Regions from separate parts of the Homo sapiens genome. Here regions 1, 2, 3, 5, 6 and 7 are each linked to region 4. The links are contacts of gene promoters, found by promoter capture Hi-C in blood cells and fetal thymus (Javierre and others, 2016). All regions are on one chromosome and are shown on one strand. Each heading gives the region's core, a stretch centred on a gene start or on the middle of the fragment in contact. The rest is flanking DNA. Distances are from core to core; before and after follow the strand shown.

Region 1 (2,872 bases), core at 76-2,575, 2.6 Mb after region 4:
AGAATCACAAAAGAAGTGAATATGCCCTGCCTCACCTTAACTGATGACATTCCACCACAAAAGAAGTGTAAATGGCCGGTCCTTGCCTTAACTGATGACATTACCTTGTGAAAGTCCTTTTCCTGGCTCATCCTGGCTCAAAAAGAACCCCCACTGAGCACCTTGTGACCCCCACTCCTGCCTGCCAGAGAACAAACCCCCTTTGACTGTAATTTTCCTTTACCTACCCAAATCCTATAAAACGGCCCCACCCTTATCTCCCTTCGCTGACTCTCTTTTCGGACTCAGCCTGCCTGCACCCAGGTGAAATAAACAGCCATGTTGCTCACACAAAGCCTGTTTGGTGGTCTCTTCACACGGACGCGCATGAAACTTGGCATTGCCATTTTACAGATGAAGGCCAGGAAGTTTCAGCAATCTGCCCAAGTTAGGAAGTGGAGAGCTGGAGGTCCCACCCAGGACTGCCTCGTGGATGCAGCTTCTCTTGCCCTCATAGCTTCTCTCTCGTGATACATGTTAGGCTGTCCTACTTCCTCCAGGAAGTCACCCCACGTTCTCGTGAGCCAACAATACCATTCTTCACACATCAACAATGTGAGCCAACTCCCACATAAAATGCCGACCAACAGACCAACTGCAGGGCATTTCATCCCGAAATATGTAGCAGCTGGATACAGAACAGAAAGAGACACGAGGTGGAGACACGAGGGTTCAGGCTGGTTTGTCTACAGTGGAATGGAGTCTCCTAAACTCAATGGCAAAGGTCACAGGATGGTCAGCTGTGAGAAGAGAGCAGGGAATCAAGGGCAGCAGCTTGTTTTGTCCTACAAACACTGTCCTAAAAACACTGCAAAATTCTCATGTTGAAACAAAACTCCTGGATATCTACACAAAAATCTGCACACAAATATTCCTAGCAACATTACTCATAATACCCCAAAAGTGGAAACCACCTCACTATGAACGGAGTGTCTCCAAAATTCATATGTTGAAGTCTTAATCTCCATTGTGATGATATTTGAAGGTGGGGCTTTGGGGAGGTAATTAGGGAGAAGGAGGAGCCTTTGCGAATGGAATTGATGCCGTTAGAAGAAGAGACAGGAGAGAGATCATCTCTCTCTGCCACAGGAGGATCCAGCATAAAGATGGCGTCCTGCAAGAGCTCCCTCACTGAGCACTGAATCAGCCAGCCGCTTGATCACAGACTTCCAGACTCCAGAACTGTGAGAAATAAACGTCTGTTGTTTAAGCCACTCAGGCTGAAGCGAGTGTTGTGGCAGCCAAACAGACTAAGACAAACCCAAATGCCCATTAACTGATAAATGGATGCATAAAATGTTATAATATTGTATGCAATATTATTTCATAAAAATGAAGGAAATTATTCCACAATACAAAGGAATACAATTATGATTCATGCGACAATACGGTTGAATCTTCAAGACATTATACTAAGTGAAAGAAGTCAGGAACAAGGGTCCCATATAACCATAGGTTCCACTTACACAAACGTCCACAACACATAAATCTAGAAACAGAAACTACGTTAGTGGCTGCCTAGGGTTTAGGATGAGGAGGGTAGATGTGAAGAATGAAGGAGGTGTGACTGCAATAGGGTACAGTTTCTTTTAGGGTAATGAAAATATTCTAAAATTGATTGCAACTCTGTGGATATGCTGAAAACCATTGAATTATATACTTAAAATAGGTGAATTGCATAGTATGTGAATTATACCTCAATGAAGCTGTTACCAAAAAAACCCCCACAATATTCTACTTAGAATATTGTGCTTAGAAACAAAATAAGTTCTCCAATTGTTGGGGGTCTGGGGAGGAACTCATGGTGTTTCATCAAAATGATCCAAAATTGATTCTGTTCTGATCTAGCCTCTTCTCCCAGACATCCTTAACTCAGCAAATGGCCCCACACTCTGCCACAGCTAGAAAGCTATGAGTCATCCTTGATTTCTCCTCTTCCTGCACCATCCCCCAAATTCAAATGCATCAGCAACTCCTGTCCATTACCTCTCCAAAATACACCTCACACTTCACCCATTTATGCTCCTCCTCAATGCCACCAACCTAGTCCAAACCATCACCCTCTCTCAATTCTGACACATCTTGTTCCCATTCTTGCCATCCTCTGATCCATTCGCAATGCATGGCAAGTTATTGTTTCACAACATAAGTCAGCTCCTGGCTCTCCAAGGCAGACACCCTTCTCTGGTCGCACAAGGCAGGAACTGAAGATCCACCCTTCCTCGTGCCTCCAGCGCTCTGCTCATCATGACCCCCTAAGCTACTCCAGACATGCTCTGCTCCCTTTCGCCCTCAGCTATGCCAAAGCCTTTATCGCCTCCAGCCCTTTGCACTTGCTGTTCCCTCTGCCTGGGCCCCTCTTCCTTCACATCTTTGCATGACTGACTGGCTGTGACTCATCCTTTAAGGGTCCCAACTCAGACCTCTCTCAGAGAAGAGGCCCCTGACCACCCTGTGCAGAGGGGCCCCACTCAGTTCCACCTTATCTCATCCAGTGTTCCTGTTACAGCACTGCTTGCAAATTGTAGTTACCTTGTTTGTTTGTCTACTCTGTTCTCATCTGCCTTACCCACTAGAAACTGGATCCAATCTTTTCTTTTTATTCAAACACCTTCTATAAATATTTGCTTTTTGTTTTTGTTTTTGTTTGAGACAGGGTCTCACTCTGTTGCCCAAGATGGAGTGCAGTGGCGCGATCACTATGAAAAGATCAGGTCACAGGGATACAAAGACGACCAGGATTTGTAGTTGACCAGGATTTGGTGCTACCCTAAAAGAGGTCTTCTTTTCTGGGGGACAGGGACACAGTAATGTAAACGTGTATTTCAATGCA
Region 2 (3,035 bases), core at 287-2,786, 2.7 Mb after region 4:
AAGAAAGGTACTGATGTAAAGGAAGAATCTTAGACCCTTGGAAAGATAAATGCTGACCAATGGCTTCATCGCCTTTCTGCTTTATCTACTCTGGTGAAATTCCTCAAAGCCTGCTCCAGTTCCTAAACACAGACACAGACACACACACAGACACACACACACACACACACACACACACTCTCTCTCTCTCTCTCTCTCTCCCTCTCTCCACCTCCCACTTTCTCCAGCACACCCACAGTAAATCAAAGCAAAACAGTTTAGAAAGATCCAGGGAAACAGCCACCACAAAATGTGTTAGGAAATAACAGGGAGAGAATTTTATTTTATATGAATTATATATATATATATATATGAAATAATACCTCTGAATTGTATTCAAACTGTACAGAAAACTATAAAGTTAAAGGAAAGTAAAAGCCTCCTTCCCTCCACCTACTTCTACTGCAGGTAACAGTCCACAAATCTTATCATTGTACATTAGCATATACATGCTTTTACACAAATGGGATAACATTATACATACCCATTTAGCAATAGATCATAACCGTCTTTCTAAGTCACTATCTATAAATCCTATCTCATTATTTTTCAAGGTATATAGCATTCATTAGTGAAGCTACTTAAGATGTACTTAACCAGTACTTTCATTGGGTAGTTTTATTTCTATACTTTTGCCTTTCATAACCATAACTTTGTTTAGCAGTGTGAGAATGGTGCCCACTGACCATAGGCTAGATTGACAGCAAAACTGCTGGATGAGTTGACTTAATTTAGTTGCAATATGTAGGCTATTCTACCTTAAAAAGAGCTAGTCAGTGCAACCTAAATGACTGCCACAGAAGCCAAGGAGCTGTTTTGATCACAAGGAATACCATTTGGGGGCAGCCACATCCCATGGGCTCAGCCAAGAGAAAAATGTAAATCTTTACTAGACACTGCCACAGTCCATTCGGGCAGAGATTTTCCAAAGCTTAATAACCTCATAGGTTTCTGTACCTTCAGTCAGCTTTATATATTAAATAATGCATCAAGAAAATGAATAAGCCTTCAGTTGGGAAAGTGTAACTATCAATGGGCAACAGAGATGATATCATTATTTGACAGGAAGACAGTCAAGAAGTCTCATAGGGCCGGGCGCCGTGGCTCACACCTGTAATCCCAGCACTTTGGGAGGTTGAGGCGGGCAGATTGCCTGAGGTCAGGAGTTCAAGACCAGCCTGGCCAACACGGTGAAACACTGTCTCTACTAAAAATACAAAAAGTAGCCGGGCATGGTGGTGTGCACCTGTAATCCCAGCTACTCGCGGGGGGCGTGGTATGGGGGAGCTGGGCTGAGGCAGGAGAGTCGCTTGAACCCAGGAGGCAGGGGTTGCAGTGAGCCAAGATCGCACCACTGCCCTCCAGCCCAAGTGATAAAGCAGGACTCCGTCTCAAAAAAAAAAAAAAATGGGACAGTAGGATGTCATTTCCTCACTGAGCCTTGGCAGTGCATTAAGTTCCACTTGCAACAATCTGCGTGTTTCACTCGGACTACAATTTCTTGAAACTCTACCTTCCATTCTATCCCATGCATCTTGCCTTCTATTCCAAATCTGTTGGTTCTGTCTGGGTATCTGCCCAGCCTCTTCAACTAGAGCCTTTATTTGAAATACATCCCTTGCTCTTAGCCCCATATTCACACAATATTACATTATTCTAGATTTGCTTTGATTCCACATTCTGCTACCTGCCTTCCCAAATTTCTGCCTGTACCCAGTGCTTAAGGCTACTACTCATCTGGGGATGACATTCAGAAATCACCATCTACCACCATCAAAGGACAGGAGGTTCTGGCCAAATGACATGAATAACTTTATACTGGAGAGGAAAGCACCGAGTTATCATACCTTGAGGACAACGGTAGTTGGTGTGGTATAGGTAACGTATTTAGAGCAACATCTGGAGTACAGGGAGTGCTCCATAAGTGTCAGTTGTCGGGAAGCCCATCAGACTAACAGCGGATCTCTCAGCAGAAACTCTACAAGCCAGAAGAGAGTGGGGGCCAATATTCAACATTCTTAAAGAAAAGAATTTTCAACCCAGAATTTCATATCCAGCCAAACTAAGCTTCATAAGTGAAGGTGAAATAAAATCCTTTACAGACAAGCAAAGGCTGAGAGCTTTTGTCACCACCAGGCCTGCCTTACAAGAGCTCCTGAAGGAAGCACTAAGCATGGAAAGGAACGACTGGTACCAGCCTCTGCAAAAACACGCCAAATTGTAAAGACCAAGGATGCTAGGAAGGAACTGCATCAACTAACGGGCAAAATAACCAGCTAACATCATAATGACAGGACCAAATTCACATATAACAATATTAACCTTAAATGTAAATGGGCTAGATGCCCCAACTAAAAGACACAGACTGGCAAACTGGATAAAGAGTCATGACCCATCAGGGTGCTGTATTCAGGAGACTCATCTCACTTGCAGAGACACACATAGGCTCAAAATAAAGGGATGGAGGAAGATCTACAAAGCAAATGGAAACCAACAAAAAGCAGGGGTTGCAACCCTAGTCTCTGATAAAACAGACTTTAAACCAACAAAGATCAAAAGAGACAAAGAAGGCTATTACATAATGGTAAAGGGATCTATTCAACAAGAAGAACTAACTATCCTAAATATATATGCACCCAATACAGGAGCACCCAGATTCATAAAGCAAGTCCTTAGAGACCTACAAAGAGACTTAGACTCCCACACAACAATAATGGGAGATTTTAACACCCCACTGTCGATATTAGACAGATCAACGAGACAGAAAATTAACAAGGATATCTAGGACTTGAACTCAGCTTTGCAGCAAGCTGACCTAATAGACATCTACAGAACTCTCCACCCCAAATCAACAGAATATACATTCTTCTCAGCACCACATTGCACTTATTCCAAAATTGACCACATAGTTGGACGTAAAGCACTCCTTAGCAAATGTGAAAGAACAGAAATTATAACAAACTGTCTCTCAGACCACAGTGTAATCAAACTAGAAC
Region 3 (2,917 bases), core at 295-2,794, 2.7 Mb after region 4:
CTCTCTGCACACCAGAAGGGCTCTGCTCTTTCTATGGCATTGAAATCTACTAGCATATGAATCCCAGTTCGACCACGTGTGCCTCTAAGCAAGTTACTGAAGTTCTCTGTGTCTCAGTCTCCTCAATGGCCAACTGGGGATGGTGGACATAATTACAGCCAATCTTCATTATTTGGAGATTCTGCATTTGCAAATTCGCCCACTCGTCAAAATTTACCTGTAACCCCAAAATCAATACTAGTGATGTTTCCAAGGACATTCATGAACATGCCTAGAGTGACAAAAAATTTAGAGTTGCCTGAGACGCACAGCCCCAGCCGAGGTCAAAAGGCAACACTCAGGCTTCTTGGTTCAGCTCTCAGATTGGAAACAAGCGTCCTTTTTGTGATCACTTAGCAACATTTTATTTATTTATTTATTTATTTATTTATTTATTTATTTATTTTGAGATGGAGTCTCGCTCTGTCACCCAGGCTGGAGTGCAGTATCTCAATCTTGGCTCACTGCAACCTCCGCCTCCCAGATTCGAGTGATTCTCCTGTCTCAGCCTCCAGAGTAGCTGGGATTACAGGCATGTGCCACCACGCCCAGCTAATTTTTGTATTTTTAGTAGAGATGGGGTTTCACCACGTTGGCCAGGCTGGTCTCATACTGCTGACCTCAAGTGATCCACCTGTCTTGGTCTTCCGAAGTGCTGGGATTACAGGTGTGAGCCACTGCACCCAACCCCCACTTAGCGGCTTTTTTTTTGCATTTTTGTACTTTTAGCTGGCAATTTCACTGTTTAGAATATCTCCCAAAGTGTAGTGCTGAAGTGCTAACATACATGTTGGATAAGCTTCACTCCAACCTGAGATATAGGGTGTTGGCCATGAGTTCAATGTTGATAGAGCAACAATATATATTAAATAAGGTGTCTTTAGGCAGAAACACATAAAAAAAGTTATGCATTGATTGGTTGACAGGGATCTAATCCTGCCATCGGCTCACAGGAACCTAACTCTGTATTTCCCCTAGGAACAATGGTTCAGTATTCACTAATTCAGTGTTCAAGCGACTTTACAGAACCTAACTACCACAGACAACAAGAATCAGCTGTGCTTCATAGGGCTATGGTGGGGATTTCATTAACAGATATAGAAGAAATGGTTTAGTTTGAGTCACGCCGCTTGGGGCAGAGACTGAGTTGAAGAGGAAAGTGTCTCTGACAAGGAAGTTCATCTTCCCTGCCCTCATGCTCCTGATCCTGTACAGATTGGGCTTAGTGCTTGTGACAGACTAGGCACTGTTGTAAATGCTTTGTATCTGTGGGCCATTCAGGAAAATTCAATTTGTAACAATTGTTACTCTCTAATTTCTATTAGCTGTTAATAACTGATAATCAAACATCGTTACATCTGTCTGATTTTTCAACAGCAAAAGAAGAAATGGAAAGAATGAACAACAATAGCTATGATTTTATGTGTGGCTCTCTCTTAAGCCACCCAAGTGGACCATATAATGAGCTTCCAAATCTGTTTTGCTCCTTGTTCATCTGGATGCCCACCTGCAGCTTCCATTCATGATAACAAACTTGATGCCCTCTGCAGGCAATGAATGGACAGACGTCACTGTTTTATTTTTCTACAGTGCCTGAATTCCTGGGAGGGAAAGTAAAATAAAATCTCAGTTTGCTCTAGATGACTGTTTTGTGCCCACACAAAGGACCATTCTAAAAAGGAATTGATCAGGACCTTCGGGTGTGGGCCAAATTCAAAACAAATTGAATTTTCCTGAATGGCCCACAGATACAAAGCATTTACAACAGTGCCTAGTCTGTCACAAGCACTAAGCCCAATCTGTACAGGATCAGGAGCATGAGGGCAGGGAAGATGAACTTCCTTGTCAGAGACACTTTCCTCTTCAACTCAGTCTCTGCCCCAAGCGGCGTGACTCAAACTAAACCATTTCTGCTATATCTGTTAATGAAATCCCCACCATAGCCCTATGAAGCACAGCTGATTCTTGTTGTCTGTGGTAGTTAGGTTCTGTAAAGTCGCTTGAACACTGAATTAGTGAATACTGAACCATTGTTCCTAGGGGAAATACAGAGTTAGGTTCCTGTGAGCCGATGGCAGGATTAGATCCCTGTCAACCAATCAATACATAACTTTGTTTTATGTGTTTCTGCCTAAAGACACCTTATTTAATATATATTGTTGCTCTATCAACATTGAACTCATGGCCAACACCCTATATCTCAGGTTGGAGTGAAGCTTATCCAACATGTATGTTAGCACTTCAGCACTACACTTTGGGAGATATTCTAAACAGTGAAATTGCCAGCTAAAGTACAAAAATGCAAAAAAAAAAATGCTGCTAAGTGGGGGTTGGGTGCAGTGGCTCACACCTGTAATCCCAGCACTGAAAAAGTTCAAAGCAACCCTTGTGAAAGATCCTTCGGTGCATGACATTTACACCACAGCCAGCTTCTCTGTGTTCTGATTCAGCATCTCCCAGGCCTCTGATGTCTGTATTAGATCCTACATGGCAGTAGGCTCCATGGTGCCAAAAGACCTGAGCGTCTTTCTCCTTAAAGGTGACTGCAGCTGTGCCTCCAGGAACACAAACATGCTCAGGAGAATCACATGTTCAAGCGATTCTCCTGCCTCAGCCTCCCAAGTAGTTGGGATTACAGGTGCCCGCCACCACACCCGGCTAATTTTTTTTATTTTTAATAGAGACAGGGTTCACCATGTTGGCCAGCCTGGTCTCGAACTCCTGACCTCAGGTGATTCGCCTGCCTCGGCCTCCCAAAGTGCTGGGATTACAGGTGTGACCCACTGCACCTGGCCTCAGGTAGATTTTTATATGGCAAGAGCATGCTCTTATCACTGATGGAAGAAAGCCATGCTGCAAAAGTGAAATAATTACCAAT
Region 4 (3,078 bases), core at 239-2,738:
TCTGACACACGTACTCTCAAACACCTCCTTAGGAAGTTACTGCTACCTTTTGGTAATAAATGGGAGCTTTTATAGGATCACTGGCTTCCAGTTTTCACCAAGAAATGTAGAATGAAAAATAATACCATTTGCCCTAGCAATCCCATTACTGGGTATATACCCAAAGAAACAGAAATTGTTCTACCATAAAAACACATGTACATGCGTGTTCATTGATATTCATGATAAAGACATGGATTCAACCTAAATGCCCATCAACGGACTGGATAAAGAAAATGTGGTACACATATACCATGGAATACTATGCAGCCACAGAAGAATGAGATCATGTCCTCTCAGGGACATGAATGCAGCTGGAGGCCATTATCCTTAGCAAACTAATGCAGGAACAGAAAACCAAATACTGCATGTTCTTAGTTGTAAGTGGGAGCTAAATAATGAGAACAAATGGACACAAAGAAGGAACAACAGACACTGGGGCCTACTTGAGGAGGAGAGTGGGAGGAGGGAGAAGATCAGAAAAAATAACTATTGGGTACTACACTTAGTACCTGGGTGACGAAATAAGTTATATACCAAACCCCTGCGACATGAGCTTACCTGCACTTGTACCCCTGAACCTAAAATAAAAGTTAAGGGAAAAAAAAATATTTGCAAAGAAAAGGGCCTTGAATTTGCTTCTGATACATACGCGATATAACCTGAGGAAGATCCTCTCAGCAATAAGACTATACATGATGGGGCAAGTGTCAACTGCATACATTTGTCAGGACCAAATTTGTAGCTCATAATTTTTATGCAACTGTTTTTACCTTGGCGAGAATCAATGCTACAAATACTATTCCAAGTCTTAGTATATGGAACCAAACTCAAAACAGATGTCCAGCTAAATGCATTAAAGATCACAAGAAAGGAATTGACAAAGCTGAACACCATAGTTCTTCATTGCTAAGCATCTGAGGAGCGTCTGGTAGCTCCCCTGGGTCAGTCTTTCTATTATGATTTCTAGAACTTTATTTTTTCATTTTTTAAAAAATTCCAGGTGTTGAGAACTCACCTTTTCTAGTAGTTTTCCCTGGGAACACTTGGGGATCTACAAACATCTGAAATTGGAGGATGCTAATGGGCAAGAATCAAGAGAAAGGTAATTCAGAGACGACAACGAAGTGGGAAAGAAATTACAGGGTCAAAGCGAAAGAAAACCAAGCTGCTTGGGTAGGAAGGTGCAATGCAAGCCAATTGTTTACTGTATCTTGTCCGCTCCCAGAGCTGCGCCCGAGCTCTCGCGTTAACTAGGCAACATCGTTGCCACGGTAACTGGGAGGCGCGGGAGGGCGACAGCTCCCTGGACTCCCGGTAACCCTTACGTGCCCGGGGCTGGTCCGTGGGGCGGGGTGAGAGATGCCGGAATCTCGCGAGAGCTCCCGGGGGCCGTTGGGTAGCGTCTTCGCTGTTGCCCTTAGGGACGGCTGTGGGCCTGCTGGGGGTGGGGGCCCGAAGCGCCAGAGATGGCTGCTCAGCGAGGGATGCCCAGCTCCGCCGTGAGGGTCCTGGAAGAGGCGTTGGGCATGGGTTTGACGGCAGCCGGGGACGCGAGGGACACGGCGGACGCGGTGGCGGCTGAGGGCGCCTACTACCTGGAACGTATCCTTCCCGTGGAGGCGCGGCCCGCTGCGCTGGCGGGTAATGGGTGTTGGGACGAAGGCGAGGGCCTCCCACTGGCGGCGCCTTTTGAGCCTTGGGGCCACTCCGGAGGAGCCTCTGTTGGACTTCAAGGTGCTGTTTTTGCCACCACAGTCTTCCTGAGAGCCACTCACTGAATTTCTCGCCCTTAGTAGCCCAGGGTGTCCTGTACCTGTTAGAAGAGTTGGGAGACCTTCCAAGGCCTCATACTTAGTAACCACTCAGTACATTTTGGATGGAGGGTTGCTTTTTATGTTAAGACAGCACAACAAATTGCTTCAACCCTCCTTTCAAATAATGGGTTTCCTAAATAAGCCCTCAATCTTTCAGAAAGCCGTCCCAATAAATTCAACGGAGGAACGTTAGGAGACTAGGGAAAGACCTCTGCCATTGGACTTTAAGGAGCTGAAGCTCAGAATACCCAACCCACGATCCTGTTCGATGGTCCAGTTAATGCTTAAATGCTTAGTTTTGATAGCATTATCTTCCTGAGTAGTTCCAAGTTTGACTACTTAATAATAAATACTAATAGTATAGTTGCTTTTTTTTCTTGAGCAAATAAATAATGATCTGGTGAGCTACACAGCTCAGAGATATTAGGAATAAAGCAGATGGTGATTAGCGATTTTTATCGGAAGTACCAGAAAAATTGAATAACAATGTGTGGATAATTAGGTCCACTATTTCTTGTGTAAGGCTTTAGAACTTCTTTCCTCTAGTTATATAGATTAATTCCTACTAGGGAGACGGGGAGGGTTCATGAGAAAAAGACATGTAACTCCTTTATTCAGGGAGGTAAGAAAGAGATGATTATCTGTTCAGTTCTTAAAGATACCAAGGAAACTCCAAAATCTGCCAAATCTTATTTGTTTGTCCAACTGTAATCCTCTCCAGGTTTAATTCAAGATTTCAGAAATCCAGCAATGATTCATTTCGTGAGCTTTGACAAGCCGATTAACCTGTCCTGACTCAGGCTCAGTACACATCCACACTACAGAGAGCTTTGAAGAATTTAGCTGAAAGATTAAAGAAAATATGTAGTATTTTATTGGGTGCAAAAACGACTTTTACAGGAATAGAAATTTGAATCGCTTGAAATGAATTTGAAAGAAATATATGGGTGCTTTAGTGTCATAAATGAGGTTTTATACTGTTTTCGTAGATGTAACAGGCAGTCTTTTCCAGTGATATTCCTCTTTAACAACGATTTTCATAATTCTTCCTAAGCTTATCTATATCCAGTGCCCTTGCTACTGAATGGTAACCAGGCATCTTGTAATTTTGTTTGCATTAAAATTATTTCCGTGAACACATAGTTTAATTGTTAACATGAGATTGACACAATGAGGTAACTTTTTGCAAACATCTTTGTGAAATAAATGGTAGGAGTCTAAC
Region 5 (2,988 bases), core at 468-2,967, 2.8 Mb after region 4:
TTCTTTGAGAAATCTCCATACTGTTTTCCATAGAGCTTGTACAAAATAAGACAATTTTAAAAACTATGTTTAAAGTTTAGGTTATAATTTAGTAAACTAAAAATGGTAACAACTTTTGGAAATTCTCGTGTGCAATCTGAGGGTTTTATAAAGCAAAAATTGGAAAGATTCACCATAAGTTCCTTGTAAGCCTTGCCTAACTTTAAAATGGAATTTAATTTATCAAAATATATAATGTGCAACAAAAACATACGTTATACTGTTAGGAGAAGCTTACTCCTTTCTCCTTTTGTTTCCAGGAGGGCCCTCTTCTTCCAGCAGGAAAAATAACTGAAACACAGTCACACACCCCATAACAATGTTTTGGTCAATGATAGACCACATGTATGGCAGTGGCCTCATAAGATTAAAGTGGAAGTTAAACATTCTTATCATCCAGTGGTGCTGTAGCCACTGTAATGTCATAGCTGCAATTACTTTATTTTTTTATAAATTTAGTTTAGCCTGTGTGTACAGTGTTTATAAATTCTACAATAGTAAACAATAATGTCTTAGGCCTTCACATTCACTTATCACTCCCTCACTAACTCACCCAGAGCAACTTCCAGTCCCGTAAGCTCCTGTGTCCTATACAGTGCTCTATACAGGTGTACCATTTTTTATATTTTATACCATATTTTTACTATATCTTTTATTTTTATTATATCTTTTGTATGTTTTTATATAATTTTATAATAAAAATACCATATTTTTATTATATCTTTTGTATGTTTAGATATGTTTAGACCACAGATATTTACCTTTGTGTTACTATTTCCTGCAGCCTTCAGCATAGTAACCTCCCGTACAGGTTTGGAGCCTAGAAGCAATAGGCTATTGACCATATAAACCATGTATATAGTAGGCTATACCATCTAGGTTTGCCTACCACTCTATGATGTTCACACTATGATGAAATCACTTAAGGATGTATTTCTCAGAAGATTTCCCTGTGTTAAGTGACACATGACTGTATATACTTCTAGACTAATCCAACACTCAGTTAGGTTTCTGTCACTTAGGAGAAATAGCTGAGCTTATCAGTGAGATGGAAAGGAGAGAAATAAGCACCCCAGGACAAGCCACCACTTCCTCCACCCACTTCTTTCTTTGATATTTCTGCCTTCAACATACACATTTTTTGCTCTAGTTCCCAGAGTAGGGCATAGGCTCTATAGGGCAGGGATGAAAAACTTTACCTAGGCTGGGTGCAGTGGCTCATGCCTGTAATCCCAACACTTTGGGAGGCCAAGGCCGGTGGATCGCTTGTATTCAGGACTTCAAGACCAGCCTGGGCATCATGGTGAAACCCCACCTCTACTAAAAATACAAAAAAATTAGCTGAGCATGGAGGCACACGCCTGTAATCCCAGCTACTCAGGAGACTAAGCCACGAGAATTGCTTGAACCTGGGGGCAGAGGTTGCAGTGAGGCAAGATTGTGCCTGGGTGACAGAGTGAGACTGTGTCAAGAAAGAAAGAAAAAGAAAGAAAAGAAAGAAAAGAAAGAAAGAGAGAGAGAAAGAAAGAAAAAAAGGAAGGAAGGAAGGAAGGAAGGAAGGAAGGAAGGAAGGAAGGAAGAAAGGAAGGAAGGAAGGAAGAGAGAGAGAGAGAAAACAAGAACACCAAGGTGATTAATGCCTAACTTTGTCCAAGACCTCGAGTAAAAAATATGTTGAGAATATAAATAGGATGATTCACATGGATTATCTAAATAGAAGTTTACTAAATTATAACTAGTTACTATCTGAAACCTCAAGACTTCAGGACAGTTGTCTACTACAAGTAAAGATGCACTGAAATACAACTTTACAAGTCCATTTACTTTCACTGCTAGAACTTTCCACTATAGACAAACTTGAACTAGGGTGCAAACATATTACAGGGAAAAACAATGCAATGCTGGGTAAAATAAAAACCTAAATGGCCATTCAGGAAATGGTTAAATAAGTTATTACAGACCCACACAATGGAATACTATGCAGCTTTAAAATGAATGAGATATGACTACAATACTACCATTGAAAAACACAAGATATGGGCCAGGCATGGTGACTCATGCTTGTAATCCCAGCAATTTGGGAGGCTAAGGTTGGAGAGTCGCTTGTGGTGAGTTCAAGACCATCCTGGATGAGACCTTGTCTCTAAAAAAATTTTTTTATTGCCAAACATTGTGGCACATGCCTATAGTTTAGATACTTGGGAGGTTGAGGCAGGAGAATCATTTCAGACAGGAGTTCGAGGCTGCAGTGAGCTATGATGACACTACTGTACTCTAGCCTGGGTGACAGAGCAAGATCCTGTCTCTAAAAAACAAAACAAAACAAAGAAAAAACAAGATATTTAAGTAGGAAAAAAAACCATTACAGAGCAGTAAGAATACTGTGATCCCAATTTTGTAGAAAACAAAATATATATACGTGTGTATACATGTGCACATTAAATTTGTAGAAAATCACCAGGAAGGGAATTTAGAAAAAGGGCAGAATGGGTAAAGCTCATTTTTTTCTTTTATACACTTCTATACTGTTTTAATTTATTGCAAACCTCTTATGCTACCTTATAATAAACTAGAAAAATATTATATATAATCCTTGCCTTTCATGCTAAATCATTTCAATAGACTTTATTTTTGTTTATATGTAGCTAGAGAGATGCAGAAAGCTCAACTGACCTGCTTAGAATAGGTATAGAAGTAGCTTGTGGATAAGGAGTTCTTTCAACATCAGAGGCTTGTAGCCCCAGTATGCTGCGTTCCTGCTTAGGCTGATACTGATCCCTTTCCATCTTCAACTCAGAATACTACATTTATTCAGCACCTTCTTGGTCCCTGGTGTTGGTAACAGGCTAGTTAGACTAGACTAGAGCAAGAAAAAATGTTGTCTTGGGTCATAATTTCCACCGGCATTTCCTAATTGCATTTTATCTACTATACCTAATTTATGTTCTA
Region 6 (3,319 bases), core at 473-2,972, 2.7 Mb after region 4:
GGTACCCAGGTGCAGTGGCTCACCCCTATAATCCCAGCACTTTGGGAAGCCAAGGTGGGAAGATCATTCGAGGCCAGGAGTTCGAGACCAGCCTGGCCAACATGGTGAAACCCCCATCTCTACTAAAAATACAAAAATTAGCTGGGCATGGTGGCACATGCCTGTAATCCCAGCTACTTGGGAGGTTGAGGCATGAGAGTCACTTGAACCTAGGAAGCAGAGGTTGCAGTGAGCCAAGATCACACCACTGCATTCCAGCCTCGGTGACAGAACAAGAATCTGTCTCAAAAAAGAAAAAGGCATGAGGTAGTTAAGACACTAGGACCTTGAAAGAAGGAAAGAAACAGAAAGTGTCAGTTTAAAATTTGCCTAATATCAAAAATGTCCATTCTGAACAAGAGTCAAGCCAACTCTCCCTTCCCCCACCCTCTGTGATAAAAAGTCATTCACAAGTTGCATTGTTTTTCTGAAAGCATTCTAAATCTGAAAATGTCGAATAAATTTTCAAAGACACTAAATTTCAAAATACACTTAAAGTCAATTATTTAATAAAACTTGAAATTTTAATGTTTAATTCTCAACATTATAGTTTTCTGATTTTTCTATGTAAATACAGTTACTTCACAAGGAAAATTTTAGAATTTGAGGCAGGGCATTTTGACTTCCATACAAGAGTTTGGACTTCTACACTAAAACCAAATAATGCTTCATGTAAATATAATGTAAAACATAGGCTTTAAGTGGAAATAAATGACATGTATAGTGTGGTATGGTTGCAAACCATTGAAAGAGATGTCTTTCACGAACTTGCTCAAAATACCCAGATAGGCCGGGCACGGTGGCTCACGCCTGTAATCCCAGCACTTTGGGAGGCTGAGGCAGATGGATCACGAGGTCAGGAGATCGAGATCACGAGGTCAGGAGATCCTGGCTAACACGGTGAAAGCCCGTCACTACTAAAAATACAAAAAATTAGCTGGGCGTGGTGGCGGGCACCTGTAGTCCCAGCTACTCGGGAGGCGGAGGCAGGAGAATGTCATGAACCCGGGAGGCGGAGCTTGCAGTGAGCCGAGATCGCGCCACTGCACTCCAGCCTGGGCAACACAGCAAGACTCCATCTCAAAAAAAAAAAAAAAAAAAAACCCAGATAATCTGAAAATATATACAGATCAATGGAAAAAATTCCATTTGATATTTCTAGGCAGGATTTTAATGTGTGATAGCTGACATAGATTTCCAGTAATTGTGTATTTATTTAATTCCATTTTTTCTCACTGTACTCTAGATATTTTCTCAAACATACTTGGATTTTGGGAATTCGAATTTGTATAGTGTTAAGGTAATGCATATTTGAATTTATCTTGCTGTTTGAGAAATTTGAATTCTACCAATTACAGACAATTCTGTAATTGTCTATAACAACAGTAGGAATTGCACACTTAAAATCATTAAAATGGCAAAATTTATGTTATATATATTAGTTACACCACAATAAAGAAAAAGAACATAAAAAGGAAGAAAAAAATAAGGCTTTTTCTCTGAGAGAGAAAAAGAGAGACACAGTTTTGGTTTTCCCCCCATTGGAATATGGAGTTAAGTGCAGACCACTCAAGATACACAAATTTCTGACCAGAGCACTTACAAGTAGCAATTCCAAAATAAATACCAGTACAATAAAAAAGATGTTATATTCATCTTTATTTATTTATTTAAAAGGAAATAAATAATTTCCTGTAAAATAAAAGGATGAAAGCAGCTTGATGGCAGCAGATGTAAAGAAGGATTGAGGCTGGCCAGGCGTGGTGGCTCACGCCTGTAATCCCAGCACTTTGGGAGGCTGAGGCAGGCAGATCACGAGGTCAAGAGATTGAGACCATCGTCGCCAACATGGTGAAACCCTGTCTCTATTAAAAATACAAAAATTAGCTGGGCGTGGTGGCGCGCTTCTGTAGTCCCAGCTACTCAGGAGGCTGAGGCAGGCGAATTGCTTGAACCTGGGAGGTAGAGGTTGCAGTGAGCTGAGATCACGCCACTGCACTCCGCCTGGCGAGAGAGTGAGACTCCATCTCAAAAGAAGGATTGAGGCTGCTGAGTTAGGACGACAAAGGCAAAATGATAAACACAAGGCAGAAGGTGCTTATGCACCTCCCCCTGCCTCCAGGCTGGCCCTTGGGCTTGAAGAACTAGAAACACAAACTTGTTATCCCTCTTTCCAGAGTTCTCAAAATACAAGGATGCTAAGTCATGCTCACAAACTCGCCAGAAGCTGAAATACACAGCCTAGACTAACACAAAACTCCCAGCATGGCTGAAAATGCCTAGGGCCAGAATAGTCCAGTATTTCCCTTCAGGCAAAGTTGCACAGCAAATCAAAGTTTTAGATTTGTTTTTGACAGGGATTCAGAGGAAAAGGAGATGGTTTAATGAATTTAGCTCTGAGAGTCTCATGCATCATTTTACAAGAGAGGAATGTGCATGCCAAGCAAACCAAATGTTTGTAGCCTATGGCTGAGTCGTATCTCTTATGGCCTGTGGTCGGTGCACATGCTCATGGTGGTCACATGGGCTTCTCATATGCTATCATGGTGGACCAGTCTCCCACTGTGAGCCCCATCTTTGTGTTCACATTCATATTTTCAACCACCTTAAAATTACTGCTTGCTCTGAAATGACAGGTTAAAAGGTTATAAAGAAGATTTAGGTTTCAAATTTGTTCTAAAATACTTATAAATCAAGGGGGACAGATAGACAAATTTGTAAAAATATAGATTATTGGGGGTGATGGGTACTATTACACTATTCTCTTTAGCCTGTGTTTGAGAAATTCCATTAAAAATTTTCAAAATAATCTCTTCATTGTCCTTGGTGCTGGTCTGTCTCTCTCAGTACAGGGCAGGGGTCGGGGCTCTGAAGCCAAACTCCTTTGGTTCCAATGCCACTTCTGCCATGTGCTGAGATCTTGAACAAGTTTCTTGACCTGTTCATGCCAGTTTCCTCAACTGTAAAATGCTGGTAATAATGAAACTACCTCACAGAGTTTTTGTAAGGCTAAAATGAGATAATGCATGGAAAGGGCTTAGCAGTGTCAGGCATATAGTAATCACCTAATAAATGCTAGCTATTGTTACCCAAAATATTTTGCAATTTTTTTTTTTGAGACGGGGTCTCGCCCTGTCACCCAAGCTGGAGTGTAGTGGCACAATCTCAGCTCACTGCAACCTCCGCCCCCAGGTTCAAGCGATTCTTGTGCCTCAGCCTGCTAAGTAGCTGGGATTATTAGCATGCACCACCACAACTGGCTAATTTTTGTATTTCTTTC
Region 7 (3,052 bases), core at 391-2,890, 2.7 Mb after region 4:
CCATCACACCTGGCTAATTTTTGTATTTTTAGTAGAGACAGGGTTTCACCATGTTGGTCAGGCTGGTCTTGAACTCCTGACCTCATGATCCACCCACCTTGGCCTCCCAAAGTGCTGGGATTACAGGCATGAGCCACCACGCCCAGCCATTCCTTGTCATTTCTATCATTTGATACATCTATACTTCTGAATAATCATAACTGATACTCAAAGAGATGCCCTGACACCCTCCAAGGTTCTACAAGGTGACCAAATCAGAGAGGTCACCTCATGCCTAGTATTATTTTGGGGTTAGCATACATTTTATAATAATTATTTTAAAACTGGCAATCCATTTTGGGACTCAATGACAGCTCTCTCTATTAATCATATTGTTTTATTAACTGAAATAGTCCACTCAGTCAGTAGGATTAATGATCAGAGATTATGACACAACTAAAACCAAAGCTGGGGCAATGGGCTCTCAGAATGGAACCACCCATTATGAACTATCCATCTGACCAACTCTTTAACTTTCTTCCTAAATATGAGATCACCAAGGCGTTTCAATGCAGCCTGCACAATTCATGGGGCAGGGTCCTCAGATTAAAGACTTTACATTTATGTAGAATTCAGTATCATTTTTCACTAAGCAAACTCTATTTGCTCACTCTCTTCTACATGTAATTGTCCAACTTTGGTTGACTGCTGAGTCCTCATGGAAGAATTCCCATTCTGCCCCTGAGCCTCTCCTTTAGGGACTTGGAAACGGAAGGTAGTGCAGTTCTTTCTGGCCATCTGCCAGGCATGGAACCCCAGGCTTCTTGGGGTAAGTTCGACGAGCAAGCTTAAAGAACTCTTCTGCAGCATCAAGTGCAATGAGACGGTCCTGCAAAAACAAACAACAAACCAAAAAACTGCTGGCAAGATAGGAACCAAGACATGTCGATGGGAAAAAGCAATCTAACAACAACAAAACCCACCCTGGAAATGACAATGAGCAAGTAAGACGTTTATTAATTTTTTCCTAACAAATGTAGAGACACGCCTTAATCCTTTAGTTACATTATCCAAGAAACATTTCCCCACTCCTTAGCGTCCTTTCTCCTTTCAGATTATTTCTTAGTCTTATAGGTTAAATAAACAATACTTCTCACATCTCTTTGACCTACAAATGGTTCAGAAAATAGACTACACAGTAGAATTCACTGAAAAATACAAACTCTTGAGCTGGAACCCAAGCCTCAGTAGGTCTACGTGTGATACAGAAATCTGAACTTTTAAAACTCTTTAGGTGATTCTGATGCTGCGGGCCACTGGGGACCACAGCATATAATGCCAGCATCTGCCACCTCATATGTGATAGTGATGGTGGTGTTGGAATACGGAGGATAGTGAATAGTTTTAAAAAGCCAAGCAATTAAAGCAAAATTAGGGCAAATGAAAAAAAGCATCCACTTACCACAACAAAGAGATATCTCTCTGAGAGCTCCCAACTTGTTGGGAAAATATTGGTTTCTTCAGCCAGTTTTAACAACATCTCTCGAGCTTTCCTTGTGTTTTTAGAATCACTGATGGTGCTGAGTTTAGTCACTGACAACAAAGAGTCAGCTTCCTTTTGAAAACCTAAGGTAGAAAAATGGACCACTCATGTAAAGTAGTCCCAAGTTAACAAGTGTTCCGCAATACGGTCCCTGCAGGAGATTACGAACAGACCCATGTGGATTCTGTACAAGCATAAAGCATCAGAAAACTGAAGCCAAAGGTACTATTCCATGTGCTGCCTCCCAGATCCATGTGATTGGCAGGATATTTAATTACAATTCTTTCGGTATTTTTTTTCTCTTTGTTAACTTTTCCCTCAGAGCCTCAGATACTCATCCACTGGTTGCTTGCCACCTTGTTTCTGGTTTGAAGCCCTCTTTCCTGTCCTCCCTACTCTTTAGCTTCTCCCCTGTCCCCAGAATTCCTACCTGCCTCCCAGCCTGCAAAGTGGTTCCCTCCAGGCTGTCCTTCTCCAAACCTGGATTTTCTTCCTCAGGGTAATATGATTAGCTGGTAAAAATCACTCACCCAAAAGTATAAAGGATTCAAAGACTTAAACCTACTTGGAGTAACTTTCATTGTTTAAAAAAAAAAAAAGGCTATTAGCTCACAACAATACTAGATATGCAAAGAGGGCAGAGATCCCATCCCATCCCATTGCATGCCAACCAAAGCCATAGAGATCGGTCACATGGCCCCCCACGCTTGAAAAGTGATGATGCCAAGATGTCATGCTCTCTTTCAAAGCAAAAGGATCAAGGACTTCAGAACTGATAAATTCACTTTTTAAACATTGAAGCAGGATTATATAATGTGGGGGCCACATTTATTGTATCACAATCCCGGGAGAATTGAGAAAAATCATTATCATTAACCATTAGTGATGAGGGCAGGTATCTACCCTAATGCCACAAGTGTTTTTCCCAACCTCGAAGCTTTTCTTCCATATTTCTTCCGAAATTCTACACTGAGTTTTGCTGTCTGTCTTGCAAACAATATTTCTCCCAACCTGCTTCATCTTACAAAGCTATGACTAATTGGCCAACACCCCATCTAATTAAATTAATGTACAATGCCAAAAAAGTAAATGTTAGTGCCCACATGACTGCACTGGCATGCGTACCCTATACTAGGGACAGATGGAGTAACACATGGCAGAGTGTGTCCTGAAGACATGGACTGGTGACAACAGAAACATCAGGCATTTATGCTTGAGGATATAAGAGCAAGATTGGGAGAATAATTAGTACACAGTAGTCTTAATTAGGCAATTATTGACATTCCTTTTATAAAAACCATGGTGGAGAAATTGAAGAATAATGATCACAACGAGTTATTTTTACCATTTCACAATCTCTTTTAGACTTACCTAAATCTTCTAAGATGCACTTCCATCTGTTTCTTACTTCCCTTCGAACCTGCCGCAGGGTATGGATATCATAGTTGAGCTTCTGCCACTCCTGCAGGAAAATAAAAGTTTAGTTTTATTTATACCCCTTGGCTTAAACCTCTATCTCATTCCCAAACT

The links. Contacts are between HindIII fragments. The CHiCAGO score rates a contact against its expected background, and 5 or more counts as called.
Region 1: a contact is called between a fragment that was not itself captured here and the fragment with the promoter of SPAG16 in region 4, in 8 of 17 cell types (naive CD8 T cells, total CD4 T cells, activated CD4 T cells and 5 more). The highest score is 17.1, in naive CD8 T cells.
Region 2: a fragment that was not itself captured here is called in contact with the fragment with the promoter of SPAG16 in region 4 in 7 of 17 cell types (non-activated CD4 T cells, total CD4 T cells, naive CD8 T cells and 4 more); the score reaches 9.5 in non-activated CD4 T cells.
Region 3: a fragment that was not itself captured here is called in contact with the fragment with the promoter of SPAG16 in region 4 in 1 of 17 cell types (total CD4 T cells); the score reaches 7.3 in total CD4 T cells.
Region 5: a contact is called between a fragment that was not itself captured here and the fragment with the promoter of SPAG16 in region 4, in 5 of 17 cell types (naive CD8 T cells, total CD4 T cells, total CD8 T cells and 2 more). The highest score is 12.7, in naive CD8 T cells.
Region 6: a fragment that was not itself captured here is called in contact with the fragment with the promoter of SPAG16 in region 4 in 8 of 17 cell types (non-activated CD4 T cells, total CD4 T cells, naive CD4 T cells and 5 more); the score reaches 15.6 in non-activated CD4 T cells.
Region 7: a contact is called between a fragment that was not itself captured here and the fragment with the promoter of SPAG16 in region 4, in 8 of 17 cell types (naive CD8 T cells, total CD8 T cells, total CD4 T cells and 5 more). The highest score is 22.9, in naive CD8 T cells.

Annotation. Positions count from the first base shown.
Region 1 is chr2:215,927,757-215,930,628 of GRCh38, forward strand. No RefSeq gene overlaps it. Among named protein-coding and RNA genes, the nearest start is that of MREG, 84 kb to the right of the region's middle. RefSeq lists an enhancer at 1-381. The HindIII fragment of the contact is 6,678 bases long and covers 1-2,872 here.
Region 2 is chr2:215,974,676-215,977,710 of GRCh38, forward strand. All of the region lies in intron 2 of MREG (melanoregulin), which reads right to left. Among named protein-coding and RNA genes, the nearest start is that of MREG, 37 kb to the right of the region's middle. The HindIII fragment of the contact is 1,136 bases long and covers 969-2,104 here.
Region 3 is chr2:216,007,002-216,009,918 of GRCh38, forward strand. The region is part of intron 1 of MREG (melanoregulin); the gene reads right to left. Among named protein-coding and RNA genes, the nearest start is that of MREG, 5.1 kb to the right of the region's middle. The HindIII fragment of the contact is 1,417 bases long and covers 837-2,253 here.
Region 4 is chr2:213,282,976-213,286,053 of GRCh38, forward strand. It overlaps SPAG16 (sperm associated antigen 16), which reads left to right and starts at 1,489. Exons shown (of 16, transcript NM_024532.5): 1 at 1,489-1,644. The coding sequence starts at 1,509. SPAG16-DT (SPAG16 divergent transcript) reads right to left here and starts at 1,234. Exons shown (of 3, transcript NR_161186.1): 1 at 1,058-1,234. RefSeq lists enhancers at 1,522-1,651, 1,692-1,741, 1,812-1,891. The HindIII fragment of the contact is 3,357 bases long and covers 1-2,908 here.
Region 5 is chr2:216,072,922-216,075,909 of GRCh38, forward strand. The region is part of intron 1 of PECR (peroxisomal trans-2-enoyl-CoA reductase); the gene reads right to left. Among named protein-coding and RNA genes, the nearest start is that of PECR, 7.4 kb to the right of the region's middle. The HindIII fragment of the contact is 2,894 bases long and covers 271-2,988 here.
Region 6 is chr2:216,027,407-216,030,725 of GRCh38, forward strand. It overlaps a transcript of MREG not described here and a transcript of PECR not described here. Among named protein-coding and RNA genes, the nearest start is that of MREG, 16 kb to the left of the region's middle. The HindIII fragment of the contact is 7,587 bases long and covers 1-3,319 here.
Region 7 is chr2:215,944,130-215,947,181 of GRCh38, forward strand. MREG (melanoregulin) reads right to left here. Exons shown (of 5, transcript NM_018000.3): 3 at 2,894-2,984; 4 at 1,442-1,605; 5 at 1-868. The coding sequence ends at 734. Among named protein-coding and RNA genes, the nearest start is that of MREG, 68 kb to the right of the region's middle. The HindIII fragment of the contact is 1,633 bases long and covers 825-2,457 here.